2 separate regions of the Homo sapiens genome follow, and region 1 is linked to region 2. Evidence: promoter capture Hi-C in 16 types of primary human blood cells and fetal thymus (Javierre and others, 2016). All regions are on one chromosome and are shown on one strand. Each heading gives the region's core, a stretch centred on a gene start or on the middle of the fragment in contact. The rest is flanking DNA. Distances are from core to core; before and after follow the strand shown. Region 1 overlaps PSMA8 (proteasome 20S subunit alpha 8). Region 2 holds the start of TAF4B (TATA-box binding protein associated factor 4b).

Region 1 (7,472 bases), core at 3,265-5,764, 51 kb after region 2:
GAAAAGATATATGTAAAACAATCTTCAAAATAATTTTTTTTGAGATGGAGTCTTGGTCTGTTGCCCAGATCACTGGCATAATCTCAGCTCACTGCAACTTCCGCCTCCCGGGTTGAAGTGATTCTCCTGCCTCAGCCTTCCAAGCAGCTGGGATCACAGGCGTCTGCCACCACGCCCAGCTATTTTTTTTGTATTTTTAGTAGAGACGGGGTTTCACTATGTTGGCCAGGCTAGTCTTGAACTCCTGACCTCAAGTGATCCATCCGCCTCAGCCTCCCAGAGTGCTGGGATTACAGGTGTGAGCCACCGCATCTGGCAACAATCCTTTTTTTTTTTTTAATTTAATTTTTAATTTTTTTTTTTCATAGAGATGGGGGTCTTGTTACCTTGCCAAGGCTGGTCTTGAACTCCTGACCTCAAGTGATCCTCCCACCTCAGTCTCTCGAGTAGCTGGGATTACAGGCGTACACTGCCATATTTGAGTATAAAACAATCCTTTAAGTATATTTCTTATATAGTTTCCCAAATTTTGAGTGCTTTTTTACAATCTCAGCTAAAGAGAGCTAGCTGGCAAACTATGTTGTACAGTTGGTTCTACCTAATGAACAATAGTGAACTACATTTCAAATGCTCTTTAGCCAGTGGGTCCTCTATCACAATATCCTGAACATTTTATTTTGTAGTCCAGCAGTTTTAACCCATAACGGCTGACAGACGTTATACATATAATAACATGAGACTTGCCACAAAGAAATATGGAAAGGTTATCGTGCTACGTATTAAAGTTTAAGTCTCACAAGACGCTCAAGGCACTTTCAAATGTAAAGTAATGGAAATACATAAAAATCAGTAGACAGGACGACTGCGGTGGCTCACAGTTGTAATCCCAGCACTGGAGGCCAAGGCGGGCTGATCGCTTGATTCTAGGAGTTAGAGGCCAGCCTGGGCAATGTGGTGAAATCCCGTCTCTATTTAAAAAAAAAAAAAAAACACAAAAAACAAACAAAAAACCGGTAGACGGTCAGAAATGAGTGGAGGTTATTTGACATTAATGAAGGATAACATTATATCGGAAGCCTAGAGGCCAACAACTTTTTAACTTTTGTCAAAATACTTTATACTACAGATACTTTTTCCTCTTTGGTTAATGACTTACCTTCAAAGGTTGATTTCTTCTTATTATAGCAAGTTCAATGTTTTTTCCACCAGACTGGACAACCTAATGTAGAACAAGTACACTATTAGAATTATTTCAGCAAATTTTGTGTTTAATAAACAAAAATGGATGAGGAAAAAAAATTCATGATTTCCTGAATATGCTTTATTAGATCACTTACTTCTAGCAAAGCTTTTATTGCTAACTTGATAGCTTCACTGTCACTTGCTATGGCATCTTCTGTGTAATTCTTTTCTAGAAATTCTCGAACAGTTTTAGCACTTCGGCCTATTGCATTTGCCTTGAAAAATAAAAGTTAATTTATTAATATCATTGCAGTAGGAATGAATTTATGGTTACTAAGTAAAGTTTAGAGGTTTGGAGTTTACTCCAGTATACCTTAATAAAATTACCAAATGAAAATTACAGATTTGAAAACATAGCAAACATTTCAGTAGCTCATTTGGTTACTATCAGAATAGTCTGTAATGGTGGCATGGTTTTTATTTTCCTTTTTTTGTTTGTTTTAGAGATGGGATCTCACTCTGTTGCCCAGGCTGGAGTGCAGTAGTGGCACAATTATAGCTCACTGCAGCTTTGATCTTCTGGGCTTAAGTGATTTTCCCACCTGAACCTCCTGAGTAGCTGGGACTACAGGTATGCATCACCACACTCAGCTGATTATTTTTTTGGTAGTCTTGCTATGTTGCCCAGGCTGTTCTCAAACTCCTGGCCTCAAGTGAGCCTCCTGTCTCAGCCTCTCAAAGTGTTGGGATTACAGGCGTGAGCCACAACATCTGGCCAACTTTTTCTTTTAAATATACCAATGCTTTGTCCTGGCTAACACTTTCTATTAATATAATGTCTCCCAAATCCTTGATAACCAGAAATTATTTTATTTATATATTCTTTTGAAACAGGGTCTCACTTTGTGGCCCAGGCTGGAGTGCAGTGGTATGATCACTGCTCACTGTAGCCTTGGCCTTCTGGGCTCAAGGTATCTTCCTACCTCAGACTCCCAAGTAGCTGGGACTATTGGTACGTGGCACCACACTTGGCTAATTTAAAAAAGAATTTTTTTTAGAGATAGGGTCTTGCTATGTTGCCCAGGTGGGTCTCGAACTCCTGGACTCATGTGATCCTCCCAGCTTGGCCTCCCAAAGTGCTGAGATTACAGGCATGAGCCACTGTGACTGGCTCAGAAAAGATTTTAAAAAGCTGAAACTTGAAAAGATGTGGAGAGGCAAGGAGCTATAACTTTACAATATGGCACAAAAAGAAGAAAGCAAAGAGAGGGGAAAAAAATGACATCAACATGAAGAAAGCTATTTACCTAAGTTGGGCTGAGCACTATTTTTGTAGATTTTAGAATAAGTATAGTGGTAACCTAATTGATTTGTTATCATCTTTGACTCTTAAGCAAGAAGGGCTTCTATTCCTTTCCTCTTTTCTTTGTTCTTTACACATTTTCATCAGATGAAGGAAAAATGCAAATGGATTTTCCTGGCTGCATGGCTATGGGTAGAAGGCAGCATATTCTTTTAATTCAGCCTAAATATCCAGATTAGTACTCCTGATGGTAATAAGATTTTAAATTTTATATTAACAGAACACTTATGTGTCAGGCACTAGGTTAGGCATTTTACATGGATTATCTCATCTAACCATCACAAAAATGATTAAATAGGTACTGTTACTAACCCCAATTCTTGGATGTAGAAATGGAGGTTTGGAAAGGTTAAAATAGGCTTTCTCAATATCATCACTGTTCACATTTTGGGCCAGCTAATCCTCTGTTGTGAGGGCTGTCCTGTGTATTGTGGGATTTTTAGCTGCCTCCACAAACTAAATGCCAGCAGCAACTCCCACCCCAGTTGTGACAACCAAACATATCTCTTGTCAAAGACATTGTCAAATGTCTTTTAGGTGGGACAAAATCAGCTGTTGGTGAATTACTGACTCAAGTAATCTTGGCCAAGATCATGCAGAGAGTAAGCAGAAGAGCTAAGCTTTGAAACCGTGGTCTGAATCAACAAGCCAAGCTTTTAACTTGATACACTATGCTGCCACATGCCCCTTTCCTAGGATGATTACAGAGTAAAAAGAACAAACACAAAGGTCTATCCTTTCACTGGCATTAAATGGGGGAATGTCTCAGTTATAACTGTTTAGTATTATTATTATTATTATTTTCTTTTTTGAGACTGTCTCACTCTGTCGCCCAGGCTGGAGTGCAATGGCGTGATTTCGTTTCACTGCAACCTCTGCCTCCTGGGCTCAGGCAATTCTCCTGCCTCAGCCTCCCGAGTAGCTGGGATTATAGGTGTCTGCCACCATGCCCAGCTAATATTTTTATTTTTAGTAGAGATGGGGTTTCACCCTGTTGGCCAGGCTGGTCTCAAACTCCCGACTTCAGGTGATCTGCCTGCCTCAGCCTCCCAAAGTGCTGAGATTACAGGTGTGAGCCACTGTGCCTGGCCAACTGTTTAGTATTATGATTATGGGAAAGAGATCTCAAAGGAGATTTTAGGACATAAACATGAAAACACACCATTTATATTACATTATATAACAATATACTATTCTGGTTAGCAAAAGATTATTTTTACTTTATATAATTTTTCTATGCCATTATATTTCAGAGGATTAATATAAGTAGCTGTTGAAACTTCTAAATTAAATTTTGTGGCCTTGAAATTTCACCAAGATCAAAGGTAAAGCCTTCAGCCTGGCATGACTTTGAAATCTATTTGCTACTAGGTTTGTTTGTTTGTTTTTTGGTAACTAGTTGCTACCCAGAGAGGAAGTACATAGTTAGTGGCTTCAGGTAGTGGTTTATCCAAAAACTTCACTGGGCCTTTAAAGTCACCCTGCACATTTCTGGTGACTTTCCTATCCACTTCTTCCAATTCTTAATGTCAAAATCTTTAACTCTTACCCACCTGACTTGTTTTCTAAAATCTATCCTGTTCTTGCCACACTCAGATCCCCACCCTCCCTTGCCCCATCACCCACCCCAGTCCACTTCAATAATGACTGGTAGTTTTGCAATGCTTTTCCTACCTGCCTCCTCAGATTAATGATGATTTTCTGCAGCAAAGACTATTAGCTGACAACCCTAATATCCATTCTTCCTTTGTGACAGAACTCTAGGCAATGTGACTACTGAAAAATGTCACTTCCTAGCTTCTCTTACAAATAGGTATACACAGGTGGAAGTCACTGGGTGAAGCTCCTAGGAACCTTTACTGCCTAGAATGCAGACATATTGGCTAGAGGTCTAGCAGCTATCTTGAGAGCATGGAAAAAGACTAAGACTAAAAGAGACAAATACCAGCATCTGCCTACTTTCAGACTTTTCATTATGTGAGAAAAATCAATCTTAAGTGTTAAGCATCATCAGGTCTTTGTTGTTAGGAGATAAAAACAATCTCACTTGACAGACCTCGGAAGTGCATCCTGTGACATACTGCCCCATACACCTCCAGAAACAAAAACCTTATTCCTGTGGCTACTGGAAGTGGTAATGGCAGACAGCCCTCAGCTCTTAACTCCCTTGGGAAGGTTCCCTGGTTAACAAGAGCTCCCTCAGGTAAGGTCATGTGCTCTTCCAGGGCCAGCCTACACTGACTCAGTGACGAAGAGTATCAATGTGCAGTCCCTTCACCCCAAGTTAGAACAGCTCTGATGAGCCACTACAGATCCAGAGCACTCCATGGTGTCAACTGAAGCCTTTATTGCGACTACAATGCAGCCCAATGTCTCCCTCTGCCCCATCCTGATCCCTTCCCTTCAACAAATGCTGATACCAATGGCACTTCCTAATATCTTATAAAATAATAATCTTCCCATGAGGCTATGTGACCCTAAGGAAGGACAAGGTCTCTGCTAACAAGTGCAAAGCAGCTTTTCTCATCTGAAGGCTTGCTAACTTCCAGAGTAAATCTTCAATGAGCTCTCCCACACTAAGAAAAAGAGATGTGGAAATGAGCAAAAAACTCTACTCACAATAAATAAATCACAATTTCCATTATTTTGAAGTATAAACAACAGAAGGCAAAACTGGTCAAGTGTTGTCAGAAACAATAAATTGGAGGATTATATTAAACAGCTTTTAAAGTCTTTTCAGCCCTGAGGTTCTTAGTTTTTATGGCAGCATTTTCCAAAGTGAATCCCACAAAACATCAGAGTAGAGAAAGGATTTATGATCAAAGGGCTCTACGTTCAAGTAATCTTGGGGACTACTATTTTACCTGCTTCTAGAAGATTTAAATGCTTTTTAGCAGATCCAGATGTACTTTGGTAACAAAACTTACTAAATTTCTTTAAATAGCTAACAAAATTACTTAGCTAGAGAGCTTGTTTACCTAATACCTGTTAACATGAAAAGAAATGCATTTTGAGAAACATTGCTCAGAAGTATACGACGTAGTTAACATTCTTACCATTTTGAAACATTATGGCCCATACTGACAAGAGCAAAACATGCCCCTTAATCATTAACATCATTAATCAGGGTGGGGCTTAAGTCTATGCAGGTGGGTCTCCTTAAAATAGTATAGAATAGCTTTTAAATTAAGTAACCACTTCAATGCACAGCATATTAGATGCCAGTTTTCATCAATGTTCTTTATGAGCTAATTTTATTTAAAAACTTTAAAAATGCAAGCTTTTCAAGAAATACACAGTAAACTGAAACAAAGTTTTGAATATAAAATTTGAGTGCTAATGGCCAGACTGGCATTCCTACAAATCTACAAGCTATATTGTAAGTGAAAGGAAGAATATTTTAAAAAATGTGTACAACTTCTTAGATACACACTTAAATACCAATATCTTAGAACTAATAAGCAAGAACATATTCAATTCCTGCCACTAAATGTCTATAAAATATTATTTTGAAAAATCAGTAAAATACGATTATAGTCAAAGTAGGCATTTAGAAGCATCATTTCATGATCCGAATGCTATAAATATTACGTTTTCACTCTAAAATATAGGATTAGTGTTTGCTGTAAAATGAAACTTGAATGCTTAAAACACAAACTTCCCTTACTAAATTGTCAACAGAAGAAATGAAACAATTTTAAAAAGCTGTAAGAATTACTAATGCTTCAAAAGTTCAAAGGGAGAGAATATTTCTAGCTGAGAATCAAGTAGACAGCATTATGTTATTATCTAGTATTCATTTATTTGTTAAATAACGTATGACCACCTTGTATATAAGGTTCAATTCTAAGCACTAGTGTGTCAACAGTATAAAAAGTAGACAAAAGGCCGGGCGTGATGGCTCACACTTGTAATCCCAGCACTTTGGGAGGCCGAGGCAGGTGGATCACCTGAGGTCAGGAGTTTGAGACCAGCCTGACCAACATGAAGAAACCCCATCTCTACTAAAAATACAAAATTAGCCAGGCGTGGTGGCACATGCCTGTAATCCCAGCTACTTGGGAGGCTGAGGCAGGAGAATCGCTTGAACCTGGGGGGTGGAGGTTGCAGTGAGCCCAGATCGTGCCATTGCACTCCAGCCCGGGCAACAAGAGCAAAACTCCATCTCAAAAAAAAAAAAAAGTAGACAAAAATCCCTGCACTCATAGACCTTAAAGCTTAGTGGGGGAGAGATAGATAATAAACAAGGTAAACAAGGAAATATGTAAAATAAACAGTACATTAGTTGTTATGAGAGAAGTAAAGCCAGGATAGGAAATAAAGAGCATTGAGAATGGGCTACAGTGCTAGAAAGGCCAGTTAGGAGGGGCTTCACTCAGAGGGTGAGGATGGTAGCCATGCAGATATCATGCAAGCTCTGGGCAGAGGAAACAATAAGGAAGAACAAAAGTTAAAAGCCCTGAGGAAAGTACACATCTGGCCTCTGAAGAACAGTAAAGAGGCCAGTGTGGCTGAGTAGGAAAGCAACGGAGGAGTTAATAAGCTTCGGGTTGGAGAGTTGAGGTGGGGGCCAGATAAGGTTAGACCACTGTAAGGGCTTTGGTTTTTACTCTGACTTACTTGGGAGGCAAGAGGGGATTTTGAACAGAGAGGTGACCTGATCTGACTTAAATTTTAACAGAATCACACTGTTCACAATTAGAGTGCACATTCTTTCTGGGTGTGCCAAGAACGCATGGCCTTGACCACTCTTGATGGGGCTATTCCTCAGGACTGTATTAGTGGCCAACAACCCTGAGGAATAAGGTCACGTCTTTCTGCAGAAAAAGAAGAAGCTTGTTCACTGCCTATTACAAAAGTGGTAGATTCCCCAAGTTCAGGGTTTCTTAGCTATTATTAAGAAGACCCATCATATCCACCTGCTTCC
Region 2 (6,771 bases), core at 681-3,180:
CACAACGTGTATGACTAACTACAACATTAGATACAAAAAGGGTCCCTGTCATTTTATTAGGGGATATAGAATCTTTTGAATCAATGCTTCCCCTTTTTTACCATCTTTGCAGTTCAGAGTTCCAATTACTGCTAAACAAAATTAACAGAAAGCAAACTCCAAGAGACTTTCAGTAAAGAAAGGCTGAACACCCCAAAATCATTCAGCATATTTACAATATGTAAATTATCACAAAGCAAAACCTTTATACAAACCATGAAATACAGCCCAATAGAGTAAAAAGCCCTAGGATAGAAAGTAGTGAAAGACTCATTAACAGTAGCGTTGACACATGGCTTCAATTGCAACTGTAACAATTGCATGACTGATCTGTTTGTCAACTGTGGCACGTGTTCCCAGTCAGGGGTTCTGCTAATTGAAAGTTAGAATCATAAGACATTTAAAGATTGTGCAGGAACAGCATTATTCGTACTTGGTACTAGAAAGCAGTAAACCGATTCTGACTTGGTTAAATTTAAAAATCTCTTTCAGTTGTAATACACAAGAACTTCACTGTTAGGCCGTACGCGGTGGCTCACGCCTGTAATCCCAGCACTTTGGGAGGCCGAGGCGGGAGGATCGATTGGGCCCAGGAGTTCGACGTCGGTGAGCCATGATCGTGTCACTGCACTCCAGACTGGGCGACAGAGCGAAACCATACCTCATTCGTTCATTCATTCATTCATAATTAATAAAATAAGTACAACGCACTTCTACATAATCTAAGCGTATGGAAATCCACGGTATAAACCGGTCCATCCTCCACATGGAAATTAACTTCGGCTATATTATCTCCTCCACCTAAGAGCCAGTGCCTGAAAGCCCCCCCGAATACGCTGATGTAGCTTTTTACTGTATCACTTAGGTGAAAAGATTCTTTCCTTAAATATGAAAAGAAAAACTATGTAGTAATGACACAAAAAGAATATGTTAACTGTAAAGTCAAGATTATGAAATGTTCCCGTGGCTCAGTTTTTTTAGGAGCAATCTGGAGCTGCGAATTTTCCCGTCGCCGCCAGCTGGACCGACAGACAAGGCTGGAAAGGGTTATCAACATACCTGGAGGAAGCTGCAAATTAGCAGGAAACTGGATTGTCGTGGTGTTGGGGGCTTTCACGGCGACTATCTGAGGAGCAGGCAGCCTAGGGCCGCTGCTGACTTTAGGAGGGGCGCTGACCGGAGCCACTTTGGTCACCAGGGTCCCCACGGGGGACCGCAGGGGCTGGGACGCCGTGGGCTCCACGCAGACGCTGACAGGAGCCTTAGTCACGGCGCCCAGGGCCACCGGAGTGCTCTCCACCCGCACCGGCAGCGCCCCGGCCGGGGCCATGGTCACGGTCCCCGAGGCGCTCACAGCAGCCGGGGGAGCGGCGCCGGCGGGTTCGGTGAGGCCGGCGGGCATCCCCCAGGGGCTCAGCGGCAGCTTTGGCGCTGCGGTTCCGGGAGCAGAGGTGAGGGGAGGCTTGGCGCGCGGCAGCCGACTCCGGTGCGGTTCGGGTTCCACAGCATCGCTGGGGAGAGGCGCGGGGGCCGCAGCAGCGAAGTCAGTGACGGGCGCCCGCTGCACGGCAGGACACGCGCGTCCCGGACCTTCCTCTCGTCCGCGCGAGCCTGGGCTGCCCCCGGAGCGACACCCGCCCGACCTCTCGCAGCTTCCTCAGCGGCGCTCACACGTGCGCTGCCTCAGCCCTGCGCCTCAGGCTCGGGTCCCGCTGCGGGGGAGCCTGGACTTGCGGCTCCCGGAAGGTCGTCGCTCACACCTCGAGCCTAACTGCGCAGCTGCTCCCCCGCCAGAAATTTCAAAACTACGAACCCCGAGTGCCCACAGCCCCCTACGCGCGATTGGCACGGCCCCGCCGCGCGGCCACGCCAGCCATGTTTATATAGCCACGCGGAGACCTCGCGCACGCGCCCAGGCCGCCGCCACCGCCCCGGGTTTCCCCGGGATCCGGCCGCGTGATTGGCCAAGGAGCGGAGCCGCGCCCGTGACGTCACTGGGGACGGCTCCAGGGAGCGTTAAAATCTTCCCCAGAATCGCCAGCAAGGAGGGGCGATGCCAGAAACCTATCACGTGGGAGGGGCAAGCTGCACTTGGAAAACTGCGGCATCCGTGTTCCTCTCCTTGTGTCCCCTGTAGTGTGTTCCTCGAAAAGCCAGCACTAGACTATCTCCAGGATTCTATTTTTTAAGGAGAAAATGGGGAGGACTGATTTCCGAGAAGAGTGACTCAATAAGAATTCAATCACGCATTTTCAGTGTTTTTCTCTGCTGTCTTCACACTGAAGCGTTGCTAAAATTCGCAGTTAGAATTGACATTGTAAAAATTAAAATGGCGTATAGTTTTATAGTCTGTGAGATGTGCCTATTTTCATATTTTAGAGTTAAACTGCCTAAAATCTTAAATGGAAAATCGTTTCTTCTTTGGTGCTGCTATAGGTGTCTCTATCACCTCTAAACATTAAAATTGTATGTCTGTCTTCTGAAAAACTTAATGCCTTTTGATATCTATATAATTAGATTCTAGCACTTAGATATTAAGCGTGATCCTAGATATTATCTGGATAAATAAAAGGTGTTGAGTGAATCGATATGAAAAAACTTGCCTGTTTGTAATGCAGTCAGAGAAGATGCCTTAATTTCAAGCTAAAGTCATTATATTGTATGTTTGTAGGAACCAACACTGCACTGAAAGGCGATTTTACAAGTAGGCAGATGCTATGATCTGAATGTTGTGGTGTTTTGTTTTGTTTTGTTTTGTTTTGTTTTGTTTTGGAAACAGGATCTAACTCTGTCACCCAGGCTGGAGTGCAGTGGCACCATTGGCTCATTGCAGCCTCCACCTCCTGGGCTCAAGTGATCATCCTACCCTCCTACCTCAGATTCCCGAGTAGCTGGAACCACAGGGGAGCGGCACTATGCCTAGCAAAAACGGGATCTCGTTATATTGTCCAGGCTGGTCTCCAATTCCTGAGCTCCCGCCTGGGCCTCCCAAAGTGCTAGGATTATACCCCCAACTGAGTGTTAAAATGCTAAAGCTGGAGTTGATAATATTAGAAGGTTGGGCCTTTGAAAGGTGATTAGATCATAAGGGTGGAGCCCTCATGAATGGGATTCCATTCAGGACAAATCATGTTAAAGTGATGAATATGTTAACTTGATTTAATTATTTCACGACACATACAAATGTAACATGATACCTCATAAATACATACAATTATTATTTGTTAGTTAAATACATTAAATAAATAATTTTTTTAAAAAAAGAAACCTCAGAAAGATCCCTCACCCCTTCCAGCAAGTGAGGTTATGGTAAAAAGACTGCTGTCTAGAAAGTAGACTCTCATCAGATACCACATCTGCCTTGATCTTGAACTTCCCAACCTCTGGAATTATGGGACATGAATTTCTCTTTTTATAAGCTACCCAGTTTATGATATTTCATTATAGAAGCCCGAGTGGACTAAAATAGCAGGCAACCTGATGGTTACAGCTCCTGCTTTTCCCCCTCTCTGTAAACGTGTGCCGGCACGTTTAGATAAGATCTACTCACAAGATCTAGTAAAGTCCACACACTTACTACCTTTACTGTCTCTCACTTCTTGACCAGTCTAAATCCATCTCATGACCTAAACCAATCACCCTCCCTTTCTATGGTGAATTCCCTGATCACTTACCTTCTAGCAAATGCCTCAAAGTGGAGTTGGGGAGAGAAAAACTCAATTTATTGAGCACCTCCTGTGTGCTGGTCACCAAGAGATGCATTTCCTTTTTCTAACTGCTTCATTTTACAAACTTAAAAACTGCAGTTAAAAGAGTAATGTTTCCAAGAAGCTGGAATTCAAACTCATCAGTATGATGCCAAAGTACATCTCTTTCCATTACTCCAAAACGTCTGATTAATCATGTATCCCACAGTGCCCTTGGCAAAATGCCTTGAGCATAAAAGGCATTTAATAAATACTTGCTAAGGTAATGAATTGAATGAAGCTATGCAACATTTTCAGTGAAGCAAAATGGTGTAGTGTATTTGAATCTTAGATATGTTCTTCACTAACTGGCCAAATTATCCCCGATTTTTTTCCCTCCATATAGTATGTTTCAATAGATACTTGGGTACGGAAGCATCAAAGTTTGTTTATAGAACTCTCCCTTTCTAAATTTCCACTAGACCCCCACCATCAATTCACACACTTTGTTTAGATAGGCAATTAACCTCCACCATCAAATTACAAAGAGACTTGGTTGGGGAACTATATTTTTTCATAAAGTTAACCTCATGCATTTCCCTCTCTCTCTCTCTCTCTGGTGTATGTGTGTGTGTGTGTGTGTGTGTGTGTGTGTGTGTGTTTCGGCAGGGCAGGGCTGGGTGGGGGTGAGGTCGTGCAAGGGAGAACAGGGTATCCCTGTCTCTGTCACCCAGAGTAGTTCAGTGAGGCCATCATGGCTCACTTGCAGCTTCAACCTCCTGGGCTCAAGAAATCCTTTCACCTTAGCCTCCCAAGTAGCTGGGGACCACAGGCTGTACCACCATGCCTGGCTAATTTTGTTTGTTTGCTTGTTTGTTTGTTTTGCAAAGACAACGGTCTAACTGTTAGGTTGGTGCAAAAGTAATTTCGGCAATATGTTGCCAAGGCTGATTTCAAACTCTTGGACTCAAGTGATCCTCCTGTCTCAGACTCCCAAAGTGCTGGGATTACAGGCGTGAGCCACCCATTTTTCTTATAATTGTTTATAATATGCAAATGCCTGATGTGGTGGTTCCTGCCTATAATCCTAGCACTTTGAGAGGCCTCAAGCAGGAGGATTGCTTGAGGCCAGGAGTTTGAGACCAGCCTGACCAACATGGCGAAACCCCCTCTCTATTAAAAATACAAAAATTAGCTGGGCTTGGTGGTACACACCTGTAATCCCATCTAATTGGGAGGCTGAGGTAGGAGAATCGCTTGAACCTGAAAGACAGAGGTTGCAGTGAGCTGAGATCGTCCCACTGCACTCCAGCCTAGGTGACAGAGCAAGACTCCATCTCAAAAGAAAAAAACAATTATTAACCAATAAACAGATACTCATAAAAAATTAGATTACACACAAAACTATTAATGGAAGATATTTCTATTTAGAGACATTCCAAGTGATAGTTTTTGTCTCTCTGCATTTTCTAATTTTCCTACAGTGAATGCGTCTTATTTGCATAATCCAAAATTAAAACAAGCTTTTTCTTAAAATATATATTCTTAGTGACAATTGAAATCTGTAAGCACAGCTAAATACTCTCCAGTCTCCTCAACATAGCATCCAAGTACCTTTAATGGATCTCATGAACCTGGACAAATATGGTAGCTTGCTGAAGCTATGCCAAGCTGAAACTTATTACAAATACTGTCTTAACCTAAGAAGACAGGCTATTTTCTCAGTGAGAGTAATCATTTCTTTTCACTTCACATTAAGTGTGGAAAAAGTAATAAGACTGTTTAAGAAGCCAAAAATCCCAAAAATAGTATTTCTTTTGTAAAAGATTCTGCAAACACAGGATTTTATACTTTGTATTATAACACCAATTTTCTTGAATTATATTATTTTCAAAAACCTCTCCTCCCTACCTACCTTCAGTCATTCATCTATGTAATACGTATTGAGTGCTTACTATGAGCTTGGCAATAAAGAATACATCAGTCAGGCTGGGCTCAGTGGCTCATGCCTGTAATGCCAACACTTTGGGAGGCTGAGGAGGGTGGGTCACTTGAGGCCAGGAGTTTGAGACAAGCCTGGCCAACATGGCGAAACTCCATGTTTACAAAAAATACAAAAATTAGCCTGGTGTGGTGGCACGTGCCTGTAGTCCCAGCTACCTGGGAGGCTGAGGCACAAGAATCGCTTGAACCCGGGAGGCAGAGGTTGCAGTGAGCCGAGATCACGCCACTGCATTACAGCATGTAACAGAGTAAGACTCTGTCTCAAAAAAAAAAAAAAAAATAGCTTTAGAGAAGAGAGTGATTGACTGTATCAAATGCAGCAGGTAGGTCAAATAAAATGAGGACTGAGGAGTGCCTGTTCAATAGAGCAACACAGGCATCACTGGTAACTTTGACAAGAGTAGTTAGTCCTGTGGAATGTGGGCGTGAAAGCCTATTTAGAGTACGTTCATGAATGAATGGATGGAAATGTAAAGTTATAATGCAAAGTAGGGGAGAAAAAAATGGGGCCATGGGGGAAGGGATGAGGTCAAGAAAGAGATTTTCTTTGCAATAACTGCATGTTTGTATGCTGATGGCAGTGTTCCAGTAGGGAGGGAAAATTGCTGATAGAGGAATAAAGAGGAATATTTGAATTGTTGGAGCCATGTCCTTGAAGGCAAAAAAAAGGATAAAATCTAGTGCACAAGTGTGCGCCTGTAATCCCAGCTCCCTGGGAAGCTGAGGCAGGAGGATCACTTGAGGACTTTTGAGGTCGTAGTGCACTATAATCCTGCCTGTGATTAGCAACTGCACTGTTGCTGGTGCAACATAGTAAGACCCCCATCGCTAAAAAAAAGTTTTTTTTTAATCTAGTGCACAAGTGGAGGGGTTGAGCTTTGATAAGAGCCATAGACCATTCATCTATGGCAAAAGAAGGGAAGGCAGAGTTCTTGGCTATAGACACTGGTAGATGGATATTTGTGGTGGTGGGAACTTGTGTAAATTCCTTTCTAATCATTCTCCCTTTCTCCAGTCCAATCTATGTCTCCCACTGTTTCTA

The links. Contacts are between HindIII fragments. The CHiCAGO score rates a contact against its expected background, and 5 or more counts as called.
Region 1: a fragment that was not itself captured here is called in contact with the fragment with the promoter of TAF4B in region 2 in 2 of 17 cell types (activated CD4 T cells and naive CD8 T cells); the score reaches 5.5 in activated CD4 T cells.

What each region holds. Positions count from the first base shown.
Region 1 is chr18:26,172,815-26,180,286 of GRCh38, reverse strand. It overlaps PSMA8 (proteasome 20S subunit alpha 8), which reads right to left. Exons shown (of 7, transcript NM_001025096.2): 5 at 1,338-1,457; 6 at 1,157-1,219. Among named protein-coding and RNA genes, the nearest start is that of PSMA8, 43 kb to the right of the region's middle. The HindIII fragment of the contact is 2,627 bases long and covers 3,201-5,827 here.
Region 2 is chr18:26,221,604-26,228,374 of GRCh38, reverse strand. It overlaps TAF4B (TATA-box binding protein associated factor 4b), which reads right to left and starts at 1,930. Exons shown (of 15, transcript NM_005640.3): 1 at 1,099-1,930. The coding sequence starts at 1,441. RefSeq lists a silencer at 1,291-1,450 and enhancers at 2,101-2,200, 2,231-2,300. The HindIII fragment of the contact is 8,704 bases long and covers 1-5,250 here.